2 separate regions of the Homo sapiens genome follow, and region 1 is linked to region 2. Evidence: promoter capture Hi-C in human tissues and cell types (Jung and others, 2019). All regions are on one chromosome and are shown on one strand. The core of a region is centred on a gene start or on the middle of the fragment in contact, and the rest is flanking DNA. Distances in the headings are between cores, read along the strand shown.

What was found. The method cuts DNA at HindIII sites, captures the fragments that hold promoters and counts their contacts. A contact is called where the count stands out against the background at its distance.
Region 1: the fragment with the promoter of KMT2B here is called in contact with the fragment with the promoter of FXYD1 in region 2 in 1 of the 25 tissues and cell types used here (mesendoderm cells).

What each region holds. Positions count from the first base shown.
Region 1 is chr19:35,714,042-35,720,296 of GRCh38, reverse strand. It overlaps KMT2B (lysine methyltransferase 2B), which reads right to left and starts at 2,294. Exons shown (of 37, transcript NM_014727.3): 1 at 1,916-2,294; 2 at 756-828; 3 at 1-513. The coding sequence starts at 2,278. It overlaps ZBTB32 (zinc finger and BTB domain containing 32), which reads right to left. Exons shown (of 7, transcript NM_014383.3): 3 at 4,790-5,774; 4 at 4,467-4,540; 5 at 4,290-4,358; 6 at 4,000-4,164; 7 at 3,259-3,819. The coding sequence starts at 5,670. The coding sequence ends at 3,545. RefSeq lists silencers at 1,860-1,909, 1,960-2,039, 2,080-2,149, 2,170-2,219, 2,300-2,779 and 1 more and enhancers at 1,505-2,062, 3,350-3,629, 3,182-3,741. The HindIII fragment of the contact is 20,092 bases long and covers 1-6,255 here.
Region 2 is chr19:35,135,896-35,141,838 of GRCh38, reverse strand. FXYD1 (FXYD domain containing ion transport regulator 1) reads right to left here and starts at 3,015. Exons shown (of 8, transcript NM_021902.4): 1 at 2,945-3,015; 2 at 1,699-1,763; 3 at 1,210-1,242; 4 at 633-707; 5 at 267-303. The coding sequence starts at 1,759. RefSeq lists silencers at 244-463, 574-703 and an enhancer at 47-609. The HindIII fragment of the contact is 30,870 bases long and covers 1-4,791 here.

The sequences.
Region 1 (6,255 bases), core at 1,045-3,544, 580 kb before region 2:
CCATCTTTACTTTTTTGGCCCTTGAAACAAACTTGATCACAAAGGGGAGCCCACCACCTCGGCCGCGGCCCCTGCCTCCACGGCCTCCACGGCTTGACTGTCCTCCACGCCTGGGGGTCCCAGGTCCTGGACCGGGCCCCTCCTTGCATTTCCAGCTGCCAGTCTGATGTTTCACTGGAACCACAGGAGGTGGGGGCTCAGGTTTGGGGATTGTCACAGCTGCTTCTGCCACCACTACTGCTTGCTGCTTCCTCCTGCAGGGGCCTGCTGGCCGTCCTGGGGGCCGTCCCCGAGACCGCCGGGGGGTGGAGGGCTCACATGCCCGGCTCCGGGGTGCTTGGGGTGCCTGGGCCCGCCGGAGAAGTTCAGTCAGTGCCTGCACCATCCGTTCTGTGCCTTCCTCACCCCGTTTCCGGGCAGGGGTCTTTGGGGGGGTAGGAGCCACATCTGCTAGGCGAGGAGGAGGAAGGGGGGTCGTCTTATGCTTGCGACCCCGACCTCGGGGCGCTCGACCTAAAAGGAGAATAGTTGTGGGGAGATGGATCAAGCCAGCCCTACACACAGAGGAAGGCGCTCCAGGAGGGCAGGGACTAAGTCTTGCTTGTGTGTTTCCCCCGCTGCCCAGACTAGCTTGGACTCTGAACACAGAACACATTCGGCAACTGACAGAGGCTAGTTGAACAGGGAAGAGCTGACACGAAGGGCGAGGATAAATTCCTGTGACGCTAAAGAGGTGGAGTTCCCCCGTCACTCACCTCGCTGGGATCGGAGCGCAGAGCGCAGGGAACTGGGGGCCACATCTTCATCTGAATGAAAACCCTGAAACTCCTGATTTAGGGGACCGGGGTGGAGGGGAGAAACAGCAGTCAGTGCCAAAGCCCTCGTTCCATCTGAGGTATCGAGGAATATCCCCAGTTCCCACTTAGCATACCCCTGCCTATTTAAAAAGAACGAAAAAGACTCAAAGGTCGCGGGTAGTGGAAGAGAGGGTCTCTCCCTAGGGATGGAGGCGCCAGGTATTTCGAACTCCGATCCCCAGTGCCGGACCACACCAGCACAGCCAAAGCCATGGTTCACTGGCCCAAGAGAGAAGACGACAGGGTCTCCTCAGGAAAGGCAGCAGGCCCCATACTCAGATTCCTTCAGAGTCCAATTCAGACCAAAGTGGGACCTCCACTGACACCCTTTCGGGCCACAATTTATTTCTGCATTAAGTTGGGAACAGGGGCCCGCAAGTGAAGGGGCGGGGAGGGCATCAGATGGCTTTCGTACAGGCTCCACTGCGAGCTCTCAGGTTGTTATTAACCGTCCAGGGCAACGCAACCCACACCTTCCTGCCTGTTCTGAAAGGCTGGGGGAGAAATCCTGAGCTGAGCTCTGACCTGCTAGAGTGCCCAGTCCCGGCCTTCATCCCACTCCTGTTCAACCCGAGCCCCAAGAGGAAGCCCTCCACCACTCTACCTGAGATGCCAAGAGAAACTGGGGCCCTGGAGAAACCAGGAGGTTGCGAGGCCCGGCGGGGCGGCCCACAGGTAAGAGCCCAGACAGCTCCAACCTGTCTGCCAAGGCCACGCTGCCGCTGTCAACCACGACTGGCTGGACATGCAGTCCCCACTGCCTCCTCGCCCAAACCTCCACCGCCCTAGCTTTGCCAGCTGCCGAAAAGGATCGGCCCAAGACACTTCAGCGGGACCGACATCGGGCGCGAGTGCCTGGCTGCAGCCGGGGCTTCTCTACCCACTTCCAGAGGCCCTTTCCCCCGGAAGCTGCATGCAGCCGCCCTCCCTCCGTGCCCCGTCTCTCCGAAGGAACCCTGAGGACCCGGCCTGCCCACGCCGCCCCCGGGACAACCCAGACCCCTGGAAGCCCCGGCCTCCGCCCCACCCGGCGCCGGGGACGCCTCCAACCGCCTCACCTCCTCGTCGGATTCCCCGTCACTGCTCTCCTCCTCCGGCACGCAGCCTCGACTCGGGCCCCAGCCCCGGCCCCGACCCCGTCCCCGGCCCCGCTGGACCCGCGGGCCGGCCCACAGGCGGCGGAGCCGGCGCAGGCCCCGGCGGAGCCCCAGCAAACGGAGCAGGGCCGTGTCCTCCCCGGGCTCGGCTCCGCCCGGCCCCGTCGCGCCACCGCCGCGCCGCAGAGCTACCCGCACTCTTTCGGCCCCGTTGCCCCGTCCGCCGCGGCCCCCGCCCCCGCCGGCGCCCCGCGGCCGGCCCGGGAAGCGGCCCCGCGCGGAGCCAGGCCCGGGGCAACTGCCGCCGCCCGCCGCCGCCGCCATCTTGGCACCGTGAGAGGGGCCGGGGAGGCGGGGGGAGGGGCGGCCCGTGCGCAGGGCCGGGGGGAGGGGAGAGAGCGGGGGCGGGGCGGGGCGGCCGCGGCGCACGACAACAACCAGCGCCGCCGCGGGAGACCGGGGGCCGGGCCGGCCACGCGCAGGGCACCACGGGAGAGGGAGTCCGCGGCCGGCCGGCGCCCTCGGACCGCACCTGGGGAGCACAGACCCCCGCGTCGCGGCCGCAGAGGGGCGAACCGCGGGGGCCTCCGGGAAATGTAGTCCGGACGCCTCGCTTCTTCCGCCGGCAGCCAGGGCGCGAGGGCCGGGACGGCGGGGTTCCCGGCCAGGACCCGGAAAGCGGGTTGCCGGGTCTCCGGGAGGTGTGGTCCTAGCCCCAGGCTCCTCCCATTGTTCTTGGCTAGGCCGGCGGCCCGCGTGGACTACCACTCCCAGGGTGCCGCGGGCTCGGGCCCCGGGACCCCCGAGGCCCTGGGAAATGCAGTTCGCGGCTGCAGGAGGCGTGGGCTGGAGAAGGAGCGGTGGAAAGCATAGTCAGTCTCCGTTCCAGGCGCGACCTGGCGGCGGCTTGGCACGGTGTGGAGGGAAGACGCCGGAGAGGCCGCGGTCTCGGGGTCCGTGTGCTCCCGGAGAGGAGGCGGGTGGCCGAAAGCAGGGTCGGAGCACGCGTTCCTCTCTCTCCCGGGCCGAGCGTTCCCAGATCAGACTCCGCGCGCCGTGGATTGCAGTGGAAGGGGCGAGTGACTTGCGGTCGCACAGCCCCCACCAGTCCAGGACCGGCATGCCGCAAGGTGTGCCCGGACACCGAGTCCTCGGGGCCGGCTGCCTCCTGGGGAGGACGGGGCGCCTCGGGGGTGGAAGAAGTGTCCATCCCGCTGGACAGCGGACGCAGGGCCACCAGGGGCCGCTACAGGACAAGGGGCGTGGGCGGGGGTGTGCACAGACTAAACTCGGCTTTCTAGTCCTGAAGGGAGGGCACAGGAAACTCTTTATTATGGTGATGAGATCGACAATCTCCCCTACTGTTAACCTTCGCTCCTGCACACTTCAGTGTCCTCACTCTGTAGGGCTCGCTGGCCTGGGCTTCTGCGACCCGCGATCGTCCAGGAGAGGGCACTCGGCGCCCTTCCTGGGGCGCTTCTGGGGCGGAATTTGCTAGGCCGCCGTAGCAGCGGTGCCAGGTCAGAAGCCGAGCCGGCCCGCTTTTCGTTCTTTAATTGGACTCTTGGCTAAGACGCTACCGACACCCCGTCAGGTGGTGGAGGAAGAAGGACAACAGGGAGAGGTCGAGGGCCGAGACGGCCTCGAGGAGGAGTAGAGGAAGGTGGAGCGGATGGTCCATCCGGGCGGGAGTTGGCTGGGCGAGTGACCGCGCATGTGCGCCTGCATGGAGGCCAGGCTGGGACAGCCGGCCCCGCACAGGGAGCAGCGGTACGGAGCGGCCCCGTGTGTCCGCAGGTGCTTGGTCATGGCCGAGAAGTCCCGGGAGCGCTGAGGACAAAGGCTACAGGAGAAGGGCTTCTCTCCTAGAGCGGTCGGAAGGGGAGGCCGGTGAAGGAAGGAAGAAGGCGGCGAAAGCTGGCCAAGTTAGGGGTGGATCGGGCCACGGGGCTAGGGGATTGCGCGGGAACCGGGCACACAGGTGGAGACTCAGGAGCGGAGTTGGGAAGAAAGCCGACAGTTCACACAGGGCAGGGCGCCCATACCTGTGTGGACTCGGTAGTGCGTCTCCATCTGATGCTTGAGTGAAAACCTCTTTCCACAGACAGAGCACGCATAGGGCCGAGACCGAGCAGGAGGGGCCGGGGGAGGGTGCGGGCGAGGTGGGCAGCCTGCCTTGTCCTCATGACCCGCACAGGTTGCAAGTGCGCCTGTGGGGACAGAGAAGGCAAAGGAGGGCAGGGCCAGGAATCCCAGCGCCAACTCACTGTACCATTCAGGCAGGAAATCAAGGGCTACAGTGGGGCTGAGGCACGAGTGCCCCCGCCCGACTCACCTGTGTGCCCCTGATCAGACTCTTCCATCTCCCCAGGGCTGAGCTGTGCGGGGCCCTGGGGGAGGGAACCTGGAAGGAACAGTGGGAGGTAGGGGCCCTGCTCAGGCTGGACTCCTCGAGCCCCAGCCCAGAGAAGACACCATGTTACAGGTGTATGCAGGACAGCGAGGGGCTTACCTGGGGTAGGGCTGGAGGAGGCCAACTGGTTCTGGCTCCAGAGCCCTTTGGGGGCATTTAGGGACAGTGGGATCCTGGGATGGGGTGGGGAAGAGTTACAGCCTTGGCTAAACCTGGGAGCCTGGCCCCTTCGTGAAGAGGGGGTATCCCAAGTCCTCCCCCGGGGGCTGGGCTTTGGCGTGCCCTGTGGCAGCAGCTTCTTGTCTCTTCCCCAGCTCAGGAACTGTGCAGTAGAGATGCAGTGCCCTTCCACCCAGCAGGGCTGCCCCTCCTGGGCCATGCCCTCCCAGCCTGGAGGCAGAGCACTAGACCCCGCCACTCACCTCTGTTCCCGCCAGACCTCCTGCCAGGCTCCAGTGGTGGGGGTGCTATGGTAGAAGGGAATGCCATATCTGGGCGGCATCAGCAGGATGCTCCACAGGGCAGGCTGGCCCCCCACCAACCAAGGGGCCTCAGCCCACGAGGGCCTAGGGGTGACGCTGGTTTGCAGGGAGCCTGCTGGGGGAAGGGGGCCAGGGAGCTTGCGCAGACTTTCCTCAGAGCCCCCTGGATTTTCCCTCAACCACGTGAGCACTCCATGCTTCCCATCTGCTCCCCTTTGGCCAACAGGGGCTTGGAGGCGTTTCTCCTTTGACCTGGTCTGTTCCTGCTGAGCCTCCTGCGTTGCTCCTGCCATCTCGGGTCTGCCTCTTGGTGGCGAGTGCTTGTGCAACATCTCCTGTTCTCTCCCACCAGTTCTAGAAACCTGTTCTGGTTTCTGCTTCTCTCCAGGGTCCCCCAGTTCTCTCTCAGGATTCCTTGAGGGTTTCTCTGGCTCCTCCTGATGTTTCTTCAGGCCTGGATCTGGCTTTTTAGCCCTGTCCCCTCGAGCCCTCCAGCATGCCTCTTCCAGGGACTGCACTCCCAAGGCCCTGGCCGCCTCCTGAAGGGGCCTTAGCTCTCCAGGCTGCAGCTCTACACTCTCCCCATACACAAAGTTCAGGAGCTGGGCAAAGGTAGAAGGGCTGATGCCTTCTCCCAGAGCCCACTGGCCCCTGCGGCCCAGCTGCTGGCTGACACCTGCTAGCACCAGGCTGTGGGCGGGGAACTCCTGGCTCCCTACGGTGATCAGAGTATCACAGAGTGCTGGCCGGAGCCTGGCTGCTAGCTGTACCAGCCGATCAGAGCCATAGGGGCTGGGCAGTCTTATGGGGGGCAGGGACATTGTGCCTTGGCTTGGGTACCTAACTCAGAGGCTCTAAGAGGAAGTCCACAGTGTGAGGTCCATGGTTGAAAGGGGAGGGAGGAACATCTCATCTCATTTCAAGCCTGTGGATGTGAGGGGAGAGGGTGTGAGTTGCTGGTCCTAGATCAGAGCCCTCTGTCCTGAGTGAGCAAATAAAGTAACCCAAGAGAGGATTGGAGCTTATCCAGAATCATAGCAGGTAGGCATGGTGGCGAGAGAATGGAAATCAGACCAAATTCAGGACTTAAAGAGCAAGGGCCAGTCAGTTAACAGAAATATCTAGTAGTGGGTTTAAGACAGGCGTGCGGGAAGTCTGCCAGTTGGCAGTCTCTGACGTAAAAGATAGCAGATACTGCCACTTCTGCTTCTCCAAGCCCCTCTGCAGGGAAACACCTCTGCGCAAGCCAGGCTTTCTTCATTCCAGACAAGGATCACCACAAAACCCAGTCAACGCCGGCACTAAGGGATGGAGCATGACACAGTTTCACGGGAGAGCTTAGAAAGCTAGTGGGTCCTCCCCCAAAAGCCCATCGCTCCTGAAAGGCAGAGAGGGCAGCATGATAG
Region 2 (5,943 bases), core at 1,766-4,265:
TGTTATCACGCTTTGTGATTTTTCTATCTGTGGGGCTGTTGGAACCCACGGCCACCGCCTCCACTAGGCTGGGAGCTCGGCCAGGAAGGGCGGGAGGTTTTTTCCTCGCTTGGTCCCAGGGCCAGGCTTGGGCCATGGCACATAGTAGGTGCTTAATACATAGTCGCTGACGGGGATCGGGCTGCGGGTCAGGGGTACTCCCCGCCTCACCCGCGGCGCCCTCCAGAGCAGGAGCGGGCGAAGGAGGGCGGGGAGGGGCGTCTTACCTCTGCTGCTGGTTGAACTTGCACCGGCATCTTCTGCCTGTGGGCGTGGAGAGGTAGGAGAAGCTGAGGCTCCCTCCCGGCGGGCGCCAAGCGGCGCTGTAGCTCCAGCTCGCCCTCGCGAGGGGCGGGGCTTGGGGGACGGGGCGGGGCTAGAGGCGAGACCGGGGGCCGGGGAACCAAGGCAGGGTAGGCGGGGCAAGGCCTGGGAGGGGTTGGGGCGGGGCGGGGCCAGGGAGGGGCGGGACCAGGGAGAAGCGGGGCCAGGGAGAGGGGGGCTAGGGAGAGGCGGGGCCAGGGAGAGGCGGGGCCAGAGAGAGGTGGGGCCAGGGAGAGGCGGGGTAGAGGGCGGGAGCTAGGGGCACTCACTCAGCACGATGAGGATGCCCAGGATGAAGAGGATCCCGGCGATGACGAGGCCTCCGATCTGCAGGGACTGGTAGTCTGTGAGCAGCAGAGCAGGGAAGGTGAGGGCAGGGAAGACAGGAGGGAGAATAGGAGAGGGGTAAATTGGGAAGGAGGGAACAGGGAGAAAGGACCAGCAGGCAGAAGGGGGGAAGTAAGATAATTAAGGGGGAGCAGATATGGGAGGAGGAAAGTGGGGTACCAGGGAGAGGAAAGGGGTGTATAGGAAAGGGAGGGAGGGGACAGGGAGGAGGAGGACAGGGGGGAGAGAAGACGGGAAGAAGCAGAGGATGGGCCACGAGATGCTGAGACAGACGCAGGCAAGAGAAAGAGAACCAGAGAGGTATCACATAGACAGTGACACAGATAGACACAGACAGGAAAAGATGCAGACAGGTGGAATCAGAGAGGAAGGACAAAATAGAGGGAAGGAGAATGACAGAGATATCAATACTGGGACTCTGGGGGAGGGCGAGGGGGAATCAAAGGACCAGCAAAGCCAGGCTCTCCCCCAGGACTCAAAATTAGACCCCCCGCTCACCGTAAGTGAACGGGTCGTGTTCCTTTGGACTTTCTGGAAAGAGAGAGAAATCAGGGGTTGAATGCTTCCTGGGGTCCTGGCAGGGAGGGGCATGAGGAGACCACTGGAGGCTCTGCCTTGCTGGGCTTAGAGTCTGAGGGTGTCTGGGCAGGCTGCCCACACTCTCTGGGTCCCAGCTGCCCCCTCTGCACTGTCCCAGATGGGGCAGGTGGCACCTAACTGCCCCAGCTCCCTGACTCACGGCAGGCTGTCTGTGACCCAGTTATCCCATCGGGGATTCAGCCCCATCCCACCCCATCTTTGCCTGATCTGGGGCTTCCTCTCCCCTCCCCCAAATACCAGCCTGTGACTGGACCCCACGTGGAGACCCCCAAACTTCTTGGTACCCCAGCCGACTTAGTCTAGGTTGGGGTCTCCAACTTGGTTCTTCGGTCCCCACCGCCACCCCTGGGGCTGAGGTGGGTAGCGGGCAGCCTCCCCTGCACTCACCTGCCTTGGCCATGGTGAGGAGACCCACACAGAAAACCAAGATGTGGCCAAGAGACGCCATTGTCCTGGGGGGGACACCACGGATTAGGCAGTGTGTGCCCTTGCTCTCCCACATAGGGCTTGAACCCAAGGGATTAAGTCAGAGACAGTCTGGGGACTGAATCACAGAAGTGTTTGTCCTCTATCTTGGTGGCTCCAAGCTAGAGAAACGGGTATCCCCAGCTTCGTGGGGACACAGTGTCACCAAAACAACCTCCACGATGGGATCACACAACAACACAACGTAGCAGGGACGGGGGTGAGACACACAGTCCCCGGGGGGCCTCCCTTGGGCCTCCACCTCCCGCAGCAGGCCCCCGATTCCCAGACCTACCCTGGCAGGGCAGAGGAGGCGCTGCCTCACACAAACACAGAGCAGGAGACAGCAGGGCACGCCCAAGTCCCACCTGCCTACATGCCCGGCCTCACTGTGCCCCGCGAAATCCCAGCTCCCTGCCCTCTCCGCCCGCCCGCTCGCGGCCTGACCCCGGGTATAAATATCTCCCACTTCACCCTGGAGGAATTCTGCTCGCTCAGGCCACCATGGCAACAGCCTGCCTTCCCCCACTCAGGGGGTCACGCACAGCCCTGCCGGGGTGAGGCCCAGCTGCCACATCGCCACAGGCTGCCCCTGTGGGAAAGGTCACCCCGTCTCCTCCCTGGGCAGCAACGAGAAAAGGAAAAGACAGCCCCTCTGCCCGCCTCTGGGTGACATCTTTCACAATCGGATGTCAGGCAAGTGACATGAGGCCCAGCCCAGTGGGCCTTAGAGATAGAAAACACATGCTGGGGCAGGGATACACACACACACACACACACACACACACACACACACACACAGTGGGGCCGGAATGGACATGAACAACAACCTCTCCCCAAACTGCTGGTTGGAGCAGGACGTGGGGTGTAAACACCGTCAGGCATCCAATACTCCTCCTCTGGGCCTCCGGTGCCCCCACGCAGTGACGCAACCAGCCCTACACACGTGTGTGTCCCAACTCCACACCCTGCCAGGGTGCACACGCACCAGCAGGGCAGGGAGGAGTCACCCACATCCCACCCTGCAGAACCCACTGCCTCAACCACACTCCCTCCCTCTTGGGTTGGCCTGCCTGGGAAGCCTCGGGCTGGCCACTCCTGCTCCCAAAATAGGCGGCCCAGCCAGACCAGGGGTGAGGCCTGGAGGGAAGGAGTGGGGGACGCTCACCCCAATCGGGCTGTCCCCTGCTGAAAGAAGGCCCCCAAACGTCCTGCTGTGCCCCGGGGGCTGAGCACTTTGGACCCCCTGGCCCAGAGCTGGACGCGCCGCCCCCAGCAGCCTCCCCTCCCAGCCCCACCCCACCCATGCCCTCCCCAACCAGCAGCTGAAACTGGAGCTGGGGCTGGAGGGGGGCCAGGGGGCGGCCCCCAGCCCAGACTGCCCTGGCCCGCTTGGTTAACTCTCTCAGTTCAGAGAGAGCAGCAGCAGGCAGCCAGCAGGCAGGCTGGAGAGGCTAGGAGGATTGTGGAGGACAGGGTTGTGAACACACACACACACAAACACACACGCCTCCAAGAGCTTTTGGGCTGAGGCGGCTGCCCCCTGGGAACTGGGTCCAGCCAGGGCCGAAGGTCACCCAGCCTGACTGCCCAGGAGCCCACTGACCCCCGATCCCAGTGCTCCGTGAGGTCCTTAACAGGGCTGTTTTAGAGGACGGGAGGGAGGTGTGTGTGTGTGTGTGTGTGTGCGCGCGCATGTGCGCTATCTGCTGTGGTGAGATCCCCAGAAATGCACCACACACACACACCCACACACAATCCCAAAGACCCAGATATACAGGTACAAAACCAGACAAAACCATGTATGTATGTACATCCATAGAAGCAGACACACACAGAATGACACACTGATAGAGAAACCCAAAGACCCGGACACACAGCCAACACCTTTTATGCCAGTCACAAAATACCAGAACAAGCACATTTATGTCTACACAGACCCACGCACGCTCATGTAGATGGATGGCCACACAGAGATACAGTCAAAGACATAGCCACATCACCATCTACACTCACAAACTGGCCACAAAAATGCATGTTTATGTGAAGACCCACCCACAAATGGCCATACAGAAACACACAAGTATGTGCACACCGCACATAAATGCATTCTAAGATGCATGGCCAAACATGGCCAGGTACGGTGGCTCACACCTGTACTCCCAGCACTTTGGGAGGCCAAGGCGGGAGGATCACTTGAGGCCAGGAGTTCAACACCAGCCTGGCCAACCCGACGAGAGCTCGTCTCTACTAAAAAAATATACAAAAATTAGCTGGGTGTGGTGGCGTGCGCCTGTAATCACGGCTACTCCGGAGGCTGAGGCAGGAGAGTCACTTGAGCCCGGGAGGCAGAGCTTGCAGTGAGCTGAGATCATGCCACTGCACTCTAGCCTGGGCAACAGAGCGAGACTCTGTCTCAAAAACAAAAACAAAACAAAAAAACCCCAAAGGTACAGACATGCAGCCAGCACTCCTACATGGTCCCAAAGATAGGAAGGCCAACAAGCTTGTGTACACACAGACAGATTTCCATGGGCACAGATACACAAGCAGAAACACCATCAAGGACAACCCGCCGCTCTCACACATACCCACAAAAGCAGAAACACACACACTGGTTCACACCCTATGCTTGAGCAAACAGGCACATGGTTGGCCACGGTGACAGATGCGCAGGCTGACACACTTGCATGTTCACACATTCCAAAACCACAGATATGTATTTAACCCCACACTTTCCTTCCCCTGAGCTCTTGTCGGGGACAACACACCTGGCGTCCCCATGGGCAGGCCAGGTTTACAGGTCCTGGTGACAGGGAAACCTGGAATGGCCCAGGCACTGCACTCCTGGTTGTGTGAACTTGAGCAGCTCTGTGCCTCATTTTCACATGCTCCAAAATGGAAAAATCACTAAGATCACGTGTATAATCCTGGACAGGGCTCAGAGGTCTCTGAACTTGACATTGTCTTATGATTAACTTCATTTTTTGTTTGTTTGTTTGAGACCGGGTCTTGCTCTGTCACCCAGGCTGAAGTGCAATGGCACAATCATAGCTCACTGTAGCCTCAACCTCATGGGCTCAAGTGATTCTCCCACCTCAGCTTCCTGAGTAGCTGGGACTATGGGCGTGCGACACCATGCCTGGCTAATTTTTTAATTTTTTGTACAGTCGGGGTTTCTCTATGTTGCCCAGGCTTGTCTTGAACTCCTGGCCCCAAGCGATCCTCCCACTTCAGCCTGCCAAAATGTGGGATTACAGAAATGAGCCACCGTGCCTGGCCTATTATTATTGTCCTTGTCATCCTCCTCCTTGTGAACTGGACTGCTGGGCTGGGCACCCTATGAGAGTGGGTTCAGATCCCTCTGTGCCCCTGGCACTCAGCTCTCCAACTTCACTTTCAGGGACCCTGTTTATCATACCCAATAGTCAGTGAAGGAAACTGAGAGCTGACGGGCATGGCTCAAACCACAAGCTGCTGGGGTCTGCTCCTCTAGGAGCTGGATCCGGAGCCCACCCCCAAGCTTGCCGACCACTGTGGGATGCCCACCTTGTGCTGAACCCCAAAAGGATGAGTTGCCTCCATCACCTGAGTCCTCTCCACAACTGGGAAGCGGGTGCCACGATTGTCCCCGTTTGACAGATGGGAAAACTGAGGCCACACAGGACTGGGCCTGGAACCCAGATCTGCATGACCTCCAAGCTGTTAAGCCCCCTTATCCTCCAACGAGGCTTCTGGGCGTGGGCGTCAGTGTCAAGAGAGGCTGCATGCATTCCTCAATCACAGGATGAGTCTCGTCCCCAGGCGATGAGGTGGTACAGCCTAGGGGTTAGGTTTAGAGCTGACTAGAGCCAGGAAACTAATCACATAACTTCCCTGTGCCTCAGTTTCCCCATCTGTAAAGCAGGGATAGCAGTACTGCCCATCTCACAGGGTGGCTGTGAAGGCTGAGTGAGTATAAACATTACTACTATTTCATCTTAGCTAACAAGTGTCATTTACTTATGTTTCTTATTTAGTGGACAGAATCTATCCAAATGACTAAAATTTAGTCCAGATTAAAACAACCAATTATCCATCTATCCATGAACTCTGATCTCCAAAGAAAGAATGCAAAATAACCTGGAGCCGGATGCCTGGGTTTGAATCCCGGCTGTGCCCTCAGCT